2 separate regions of the Homo sapiens genome follow, and region 2 is linked to region 1. Evidence: promoter capture Hi-C in human tissues and cell types (Jung and others, 2019). All regions are on one chromosome and are shown on one strand. Each heading gives the region's core, a stretch centred on a gene start or on the middle of the fragment in contact. The rest is flanking DNA. Distances are from core to core; before and after follow the strand shown. Region 1 holds the start of GTPBP4 (GTP binding protein 4). Region 2 overlaps DIP2C (disco interacting protein 2 homolog C).

Region 1 (4,120 bases), core at 1,161-3,660:
CTAACCACACTCTTCTCCTCTCCCAATCCATGTGTGTCCTCCATGATAACAATGTTTTATTTCTAGTATGGTCATACGAGATATGACTTACCCCACTTTTTTTTTTTTTTTTTTTTGAGATGGAGTCTTGCTCTGTTGCCCAGGCTGGAGTGCAGTGGCGCGATCTCGGTTCACTGCAAGCTCTGCCTCCTGGGTTCAGTTCACACCATTCTCCTGCCTCAGCCTCCCCAGCAGCTGGGACTACAGGCGCCCGCCACCACGCCTGGCTAATTTTTCTGTATTTTTAGTAGAGACGGGGTTTCACCGTGTTAGCCAGGATGGTCTCGATCTCCTGACCTCGTGATTTGCCCGCCTCAGCCTCCCAAAGTGCTGGGATTACAGGCGAGAGCCACCGCACCCGGCCTCGACTTACCTCTCTTGAAAATGACTTCCAAAGAGGCAGGTATTTTATCTAATGCATTTTTGTAACACAGTACCCGATGCACAGGACAGGCACTCACTCAACATCTTCTAGAATGAACTGAATACCACACTTTCCCGATGTGATTTTTTTTTTTTACTTCCAATCACCAAACAATTACCATCACCCAGTTTTTAGATAAGTCATCTGTTCTCTAAAAATATAAATCTCACTCCACAGAACAGAAGACGGATGGTGTATAATATATTCTAAAGTTCTCCACATAAGTCAATAACATGAACAAAGTTCATATAATCCAAAGAGCAAATTCCTTCAACAAACCTGAGAGATGGTTGACCAAAAATACAAATAAGACATGACTCCTGCACTCGAAAATACTACAATCTGGCTGGGCACAGTAGCTCATGCCTGTAATCCTAACACTTTGGGAGGCTGAGGCAAGTGAATCACTTGAGATTAGGAGTTCAAGACCAGTCTGGCCAACATGGTGAAACTCCACTTCTACTGAAAATACAAAAATTAGCCAGGCCTGGTGGCGCATGCCTGTAGTCCCAGCTACTCGGGAGGCTGAGGCAGGAAAATCACTTGAACCTGGGAGGCGGTGGCTGCAGTCAGGATCACACCACTGCGCTCCAACCTGGCCAACAGAGCGAGACTCCATCTCAAAAAGAAAGAAAGAAAATACTACAATCGATCAAGAGATGTGCCAGAACAACTGTCAGGAAGAAATAAGAAATGGTGGAGAGAAGTGGGGAAACAACTTTTGCTATGAAGGTAAAATACGAGACTCCCACAAAGCTTTCCAAGGCAAGCTCATCCCGTCCTTGAGACCTGAAGAAAAGGAGGCACTGACGAGGGGAAAACAGTCACTCTGCAGGGACTTCAGTAACTCCCTCTCGTGCAGGAGTCCCTGGGAGGCTCCAGTTGCCCGTCAATGTCTGTGTAATTGCGACCCAAATCGAATGTTCACTACATAAAAACGTGACTTCTTAAAAGTCCTAATACTAGGGCCGGGCGCAGTGGCTCACGCCTGTAATTCCAGCACTTTGGGAGGCCGGGGCGGGAGGATCACCCGGGATCAGGAGTTCGAGGCCAGCTTGGCCAACGTGGTGAAACCCCGTCTCTACTAAAAATACGAAAATTAGCTGGGTGTGGTGGTGCACGACTGTAATCCCTGTTACTCGGGAGGCTGAAGCAGGAGAATCGCTTGAACGCGGGAGGTGGAGGTTGCAGTGAGCCGAGACTGCGCTCCAGCCTGGGAAACAAGAGCGAAAAACTATGTCTCAAAAAAAAAAAAAAAAAAAAAAAGTCCTAATACTCAACACTTGTTGACTCATTCTTGCCACACCAACCAACGCTGTAAAAATTTAGTCTGGGCCTACTATGGTCTGAAAAGGAACAGGTATTCCCAAATCTAACAGTGAAAGAGAATGACTTAAAAATTATGAAACGTTAAATCACGAGAACAACGAACCCAGGATTCCTGAGAGGGGAGGGGGCTACGCCAAACCCAGAATCCGAAGGCTCATCACGGACCACGGAACGCTTCCTCCCTCACATGTCGGGGTCCCCCTCCACTCGCCCACATCGTCACCCGGGGCCCCTCCAGGGAACCCAACTCTGGGTGTACCCCCATCTCTGGGGGCCCTCAGTCTTTGGGTGGACCACGGTCTTAGGTGGACCCCGGTCTCTGGGGGATCCGATCTCTGGTGGACCCCGGATTCTGCTGGGGGAGGGGAAATGATCCCGAGTACGCGGCCAGACGGTCAGGCCCAGGAGCGGGGGATGGGCGAGCGGAAGGCGACCGCTCTCCCACGGCTACAGGCCCGGACCCTCCCCGGGGACCCAGCTGAGGAGAACGCGAAAGTTGCAGTGGCCCTCCCGGGGCCGCCTACCTTGGCGGACGGCACCACCGTAATTTTCTTGAAGTTGTAATGTGCCATGCCGGCAGCCGTATGCACGCGGGTACTTGGCACTCCCGGAACTTCCGCCGTCGGGCGCAGGTGGGACTTCCACTGTCGGGCGGTTGAGGTACGTCACTTCCGGGAGCTCAGCCAATCGTGTTCTGCGTGCTCTACGGCGCTTTCCGCGTCGCACAGCGCACCCGCCCGGCTTGGAGGTCAGCCACGGAGGGCGTGTGAGGGCCTCAGGAGCGAGGGTACAGAGGAGAGGACGCCCGGGTTTTAGGGGGAGCGCGGAGACTAAATTCCTGCTGAGTAAAGCGGGGGTTTCCGACAGACTGCCCTGCGGGTTTCTGGAGCGGGTTCAGGCCCCCAGCCACGCGCCCTGGGCCAGGGTTGGAGGGTCCGGGGTCTTGGGATTTGGGAGTTGCGGGGCTTAGGAGTCCAGAGGGTCTAGGGGATCCGGGAGTCTGGGGGTCCTGGGTCGCGGCGAGCCCCGCAAAGGAGGAGGAAGCCGCGCGTGCGGGGCGTGCCCAGCCTCTGGGTGTGGAGCAGATGACGCCCCTACCCCGGCCTCGCGCGTGGGACTTGATCCCGGGCCGTGGTGAGGAGGCCCTCGCGGCTTCCCTGCAGCCCTGCTTTCTCGTGCTTGTTAAATCCCAAAACGGGCGGAGAAGGGAAAGCCTGATCTAAGGCAAAAGAGGTGCAGCTGGTTCCGCGCAGTGCCTTAGGAGAGCCCAGGGAACAGTTGCGAGAGACAGTCCTGTGGGGTCCAACTGAGGAGAAGGTTGATGAGGATGGAGCCTTTACTGCTTTTATGTTTGTGAATAGAGTGGCCGCTCCCTTTGGGAACCCAGGGCCACATCCCTTAAATTAAACGTTAGGTAGGGCTGACTCAGTCAAGCAGTGTTCAGAGCTGCTGACTATATATTAACTCGTTTAATTTCTGCAACAGCCTCATGAAGTGCATGGGGAAACAAAGGCACACAAGGCTCGAAAGCACCCCGTGGTTGTGCAGCTGACAAGCTAACAGGCAGCAGAGGTGGGCTTTGAACCCAGGCAGCCTGGCTCCAGCAAACCTGCTTCTAACCATTAGCTATACTGCTTCTCACGCATCTGGGATGCCCCCCACTCTCCAATCCTTTTAAACAAGTCCTATTATTCTTACGCGAAAATACCTCTCATAAATTCCCAGCATTCCAATATTGAAAATCATTCTGGGTCATGCTTTTCTCATCTATTAACTATGCTTCCATTTTTGTGTCACAAGGCGGATAAGCATACCTCCTACATCTTTGTGGCACTTCTAAAGGAAGCTTCTAGGGTAATTAGGATTTGCTGGCTATGATCATTTGCTAAACCACAGGACAGTTCTGGCCACCATTTCCGAGATTAGCAAAGCTATGCTCATACTTATTGCCCTTTCTTTTAGGTTCTTGTATGTTTCCTCAACCTCTCCCACTTTCTCTCACTCTGATATAGCCAGTTCCTCTTTTTCTTGTAATCCGGTATTTAGATAAGTCCAGTCAATACTTTGCTTCAGATGGGCAAACATCCTTTCTTTAATTTTTTTTTTTTTTTTGAGACGGAATCTCACTCTGTCGCGCAGGCTGGAGCGCAGTGGCGCCATCTCAGCTCACTGCAACCTCCGCCTCCAGGGTTCAAGCCATTCTCCTGCCTCAGCCTCCCAAGTAGCTGGGATTACAGGCACCTGCCACCACTCCCGGCTAATATTTTGTATTTTTAGTAGAGACAGGGTTTTACCATATTAGCCAGGCTGGTCTCAAACCCTGACCTC
Region 2 (4,120 bases), core at 885-3,384, 530 kb after region 1:
ATTTTATGCTGAGGATAGTTTAGTGTCAGTTTTGGAAATAGACTTGTGTTCTAGTATTCTTTCAGCAAATGTGCAGGTGATTCTGGGTTCCGAGCACTCTGCTGTGCCCTGCCGGTGAGTCAGGAATGTAGAGGGCATCCTCCTTGCCGTCACGGGGTGCCGAGCACTCTGCCATGTGCTGCCGGTGAGGCAGGAATGTAGAGGATATCCTCCTTGCTGTCATGGGTTCCGAGCACTCTGCCATGCGCTGCTGGTGAGGCAGGAATGTAGAGGACATCCTCCTTGCTGTCACGGGGTTCCGAGCACTCTGCTGTGTGCTGCCAGTGAGGCAGGAATGTAGAGGACATCCTCCTTGCCGTCACGGGTTCTGAGCACTCCGTCACACGCTGCCGGTGACGCAGGAATGTAGAGGGCATCCTTGCCGTCACAGGTTCCAAGCACTCTGTCACGCGCTGCCGGTGAGGCAGGAATGTAGAGGGCATCCTCCTTGCTGTCACGGGGTCATCTGCCATCATGGGGGTCACCGTATAAGTTCCTCCTCTATGCCGAAGTTTAATTTTCTAGACTGAGAAGGTTTATCTTTCCTGAGTCAGTCTGGATTTACTGATTTTGATGAGGTTCCTGTCCTGTGACCTGTGTTCTCTCTGAACAACTCAATTTTCTCATTGATTCCAATACACATAGTGTTACTTCCTTATTTACATCAGAATGATGCTAGGAGAGAAGGCGGCCTACAGTGCGGCCAAGTAGGACTGTGTAGCCACTGTGATGTCCCCAGAGGAGGTGACAGGCTCTGTCTGGTGGGAGCTGCCCTGTCCAGTATGAGGGCAGTAGCCTTGTGGGGCCTTTTACATTTAAATGTGTTAAGATGATATATAAAATCATCCTCCTGCTTCATCACTGCACTTTCGGGCGGGTGGCTGGGCGGCTCTCATGCTGGATGGTGTGGGTGGGACTGTTGCCAGACCTGCAGACAGTCCCCATCACGTGCTGCTCTGGGGCCGCAGCTGTGGGAGGAGAGGCCACAGGCACAGCTGAGGACGCAGCATAAAGATGTCCCACACTACAGAAAGTGACTTTTGGCCAGGTGCAGTGGCTCACGCCTGTAATGCCAGCACTTTGGGAGGCCGAGGTGGAGGAGAGCTTGAAGACAGGAGTTCGAGACCAGCCTGGGTGACAAAGTCAGAGCCCATCTCTACAAACGATGAAAGACTAGCCGGGTGTGGTGGCCACACACCTGTGGTCCCAGCTACCCAGGGGGCTGAGGTGGAAGGATCACTTCAACCTAGGAGCTGGAGGCTGCAGTGAGCTGTTGTCACATCACTGCACCCCACTCTGGGTGACAGAGTGAGACCCTGCCTCTAAAAAGAAAAAAAAGAATTTAATCTTGCTATCTGTGCCTCGTCATTTCTAAAGAGGGAATTTTGGACATATCAATGTAGCAGAAATATATAGGATAGATTGGTTTCATTGGATTGGGTTCCTGACTGAAGGCAGAAACAGGTTAGGGGGCTGTTGTATTTCAGGTGAAAAATGATGAATCAAAATTTGTGAGATGCTGTGGAAATGGTACTTGAATTTATAGACTAAAATCTTTATATTAAGTCAGAAGACATCTTGGAAACTGAAGAAATAAGCATTTATCTTAACATGTTAGAAAAAATTAAGTCCACAGAAGGGAGAAGTGAGACAATAATAAAAAGAATAAAATAAAATAGGAGATGCATAGACTTGTAGCTTCCAGTCCAGCACCTAAGGAGCTTGGAAGTCATCACGCTTGTCCTCTTGAGCAAAAAGCTGTACAAACCGAAAATAAGCAACTCCTCCTAGATCTGTCAAAGAATTGAGATTATAACCTCAAACCATTGTGCCGTAATTGGAGGTGGATATGTGAGCAGAGAGATGGAAAATCTAGGAATCAAAAGGCAATGCTAGAAATAAACACTGTAAGAGAAATGAAGTATGTTTTTGCTGGGCCCATCAATAGCCTGGACATGGCAGGTCAGAGAATCCAGTCCACATGAAGAAAAGACTTAGAGAAGGAATGAGTGAGGATAAAATAAAATCTTCTTGCCTTCACTCTGTCTTGACCATTTTGCACAACTCTCCACACCTCTGCTTTTGTGTGCAGTTTACCAAAGAACGAAACGGTGGAACAAAAATCGTCGTGGAAGGGAACACAGATGGCCCTATGTAGTGGAGACAAAAGGGAGGGAACACAGATGGCCCTGTGTAGTGGAGACAAACGGTGGCCGTGGACAGGTGGAATTCCATGCAGCCTGTCTCGTCTGGCCTCTTGCACAGTTTTGGCTTCTCCCAGGCTTGGCTTTCTTCTCTGTCCTCTTTCCAGACTTGGGTCACACTAACCAGGAGGAGCATCTTAAGCTCTTGCACTTGCAGAGTGTTTTAATCACCAGGAGGCAGCTCCGCTGTGAGTGCTTTGATTCAGTCACTCATTTACTCCTCACAGTCTCCCCTCAGGCAGGGACTCACTGCAGAGTGTTTTCATCTCATTTACTCCTCACAGCCTCCCCTCAGGCAGGGACTCACTGCAGAGTGTTCTCATCTCATTTACTCCTCACGGCCTCCCCTCAGGCAGGGACTCACTGCAGAGTGTTTTCATCTCATTTACTCCTCATGGCCTCCCCTCAGGCAGGGACTCACTGCAGAGTGTTTTCATCTCATTTACTCCTCACGGCCTCCCCTCAGGCAGGGACTCACTGCAGAGTGTTTTCATCTCATTTACTCCTCACAGTCTCCCCTCAGGCAGGGACTCACTGCAGAGTGTTTTCATCTCATTTACTCCTCACGGCCTCCCCTCAGGCAGGGACTCACTGCAGAGTGTTTTCATCTCATTTATTCCTCACAGTCTCCCCTCAGGCAGGGACTCACTGCAGAGTGTTTTCATCTCATTTATTCCTCACAGTCTCCCCTCAGGCAGGGACTCACTGCAGAGTGTTTTCATCTCATTTGCTCCTCACGGCCTCCCCTCAGGCAGGGACTCACTGCAGAGTGTTTTCATCTCATTTACTCCTCACGGCCTCCCCTCAGGCAGGGACTCACTGCAGAGTGTTTTCATCTCATTTACTCCTCACGGCCTCCCCTCAGGCAGGGACTCACTGCAGAGTGTTTTCATCTCATTTACTCCTCACGGCCTCCCCTCAGGCAGGGACTCACTGCAGAGTGTTTTCATCTCATTTATTCCTCACGGTCTCCCCTCAGGCAGGGACTCACTGCAGAGTGTTTTCATCTCATTTATTCCTCACGGTCTCCCCTCAGGCAGGGACTCACTGCAGAGTGTTTTCATCTCATTTGCTCCTCACGGCCTCCCCTCAGGCAGGGACTCACTGCAGAGTGTTTTCATCTCATTTGCTCCTCACGGCCTCCCCTCAGGCAGGGACTCACTGCAGAGTGTTTTCATCTCATTTGCTCCTCACGGTCTCCCCTCAGGCAGGGACTCACTGCAGAGTGTTTTCATCTCATTTACTCCTCACGGTCTCCCCTCAGGCAGGGACTCACTGCAGAGTGTTTTCATCTCATTTACTCCTCACGGTCTCCCCTCAGGCAGGGACTCACTGCAGTGTTTTCATCTCATTTATTCCTCACGGTCTCCCCTCAGGCAGGGACTCACTGCAGAGTGTTTTCATCTCATTTACTCCTCATGGGCCACTCCTCAGGCAGGGACTCACTGTTCCTGATTTGCACCCAGGGAAATGGGGGTGCAAATAGGTTAAGCAACTTGCCCAAGGTCACAGAGGAGCTGGGGTTTGAACCGGTGCGGCCTGGCTCCCGAACCTACGTCTTCCTGCTCTGCTGCTGTGAAGCCACGTATCTACCTTGGAGGAACATTCTCTTCTGTTGACTCATGGTTGTCTTTGCCATTGGACAGCAGCCCCAGGCTGTGTGTGTGCTCACTGTGTAATGCTGTGAGCTTGGTGCAAATGGCAGGAGCTCTAGGAAATGGATTGTGATTTATGACTTCAAAAGATGGAAGTGAAGGGTATGGGTTTTTCTAAAGATTTAAAGCTGTGGATATACATAGTAATCTAGAATACTAGTAACAGCAATAATGACTTCAAGCATAAAGGGCGCATTTGTATACTACCTCTTTCTCTGAGGG

Evidence for each region. The method cuts DNA at HindIII sites, captures the fragments that hold promoters and counts their contacts. A contact is called where the count stands out against the background at its distance.
Region 2: a contact is called between a fragment that was not itself captured here and the fragment with the promoter of GTPBP4 in region 1, in 1 of the 25 tissues and cell types used here (dorsolateral prefrontal cortex).

What each region holds. Positions count from the first base shown.
Region 1 is chr10:986,724-990,843 of GRCh38, reverse strand. GTPBP4 (GTP binding protein 4) reads right to left here and starts at 2,410. Exons shown (of 17, transcript NM_012341.3): 1 at 2,317-2,410. The coding sequence starts at 2,364. It also overlaps a transcript of LARP4B not described here. RefSeq lists an enhancer at 1-663. The HindIII fragment of the contact is 8,297 bases long and covers 1-4,013 here.
Region 2 is chr10:454,816-458,935 of GRCh38, reverse strand. All of the region lies in intron 3 of DIP2C (disco interacting protein 2 homolog C), which reads left to right. Among named protein-coding and RNA genes, the nearest start is that of DIP2C-AS2, 170 kb to the left of the region's middle. The HindIII fragment of the contact is 4,493 bases long and covers 1-4,120 here.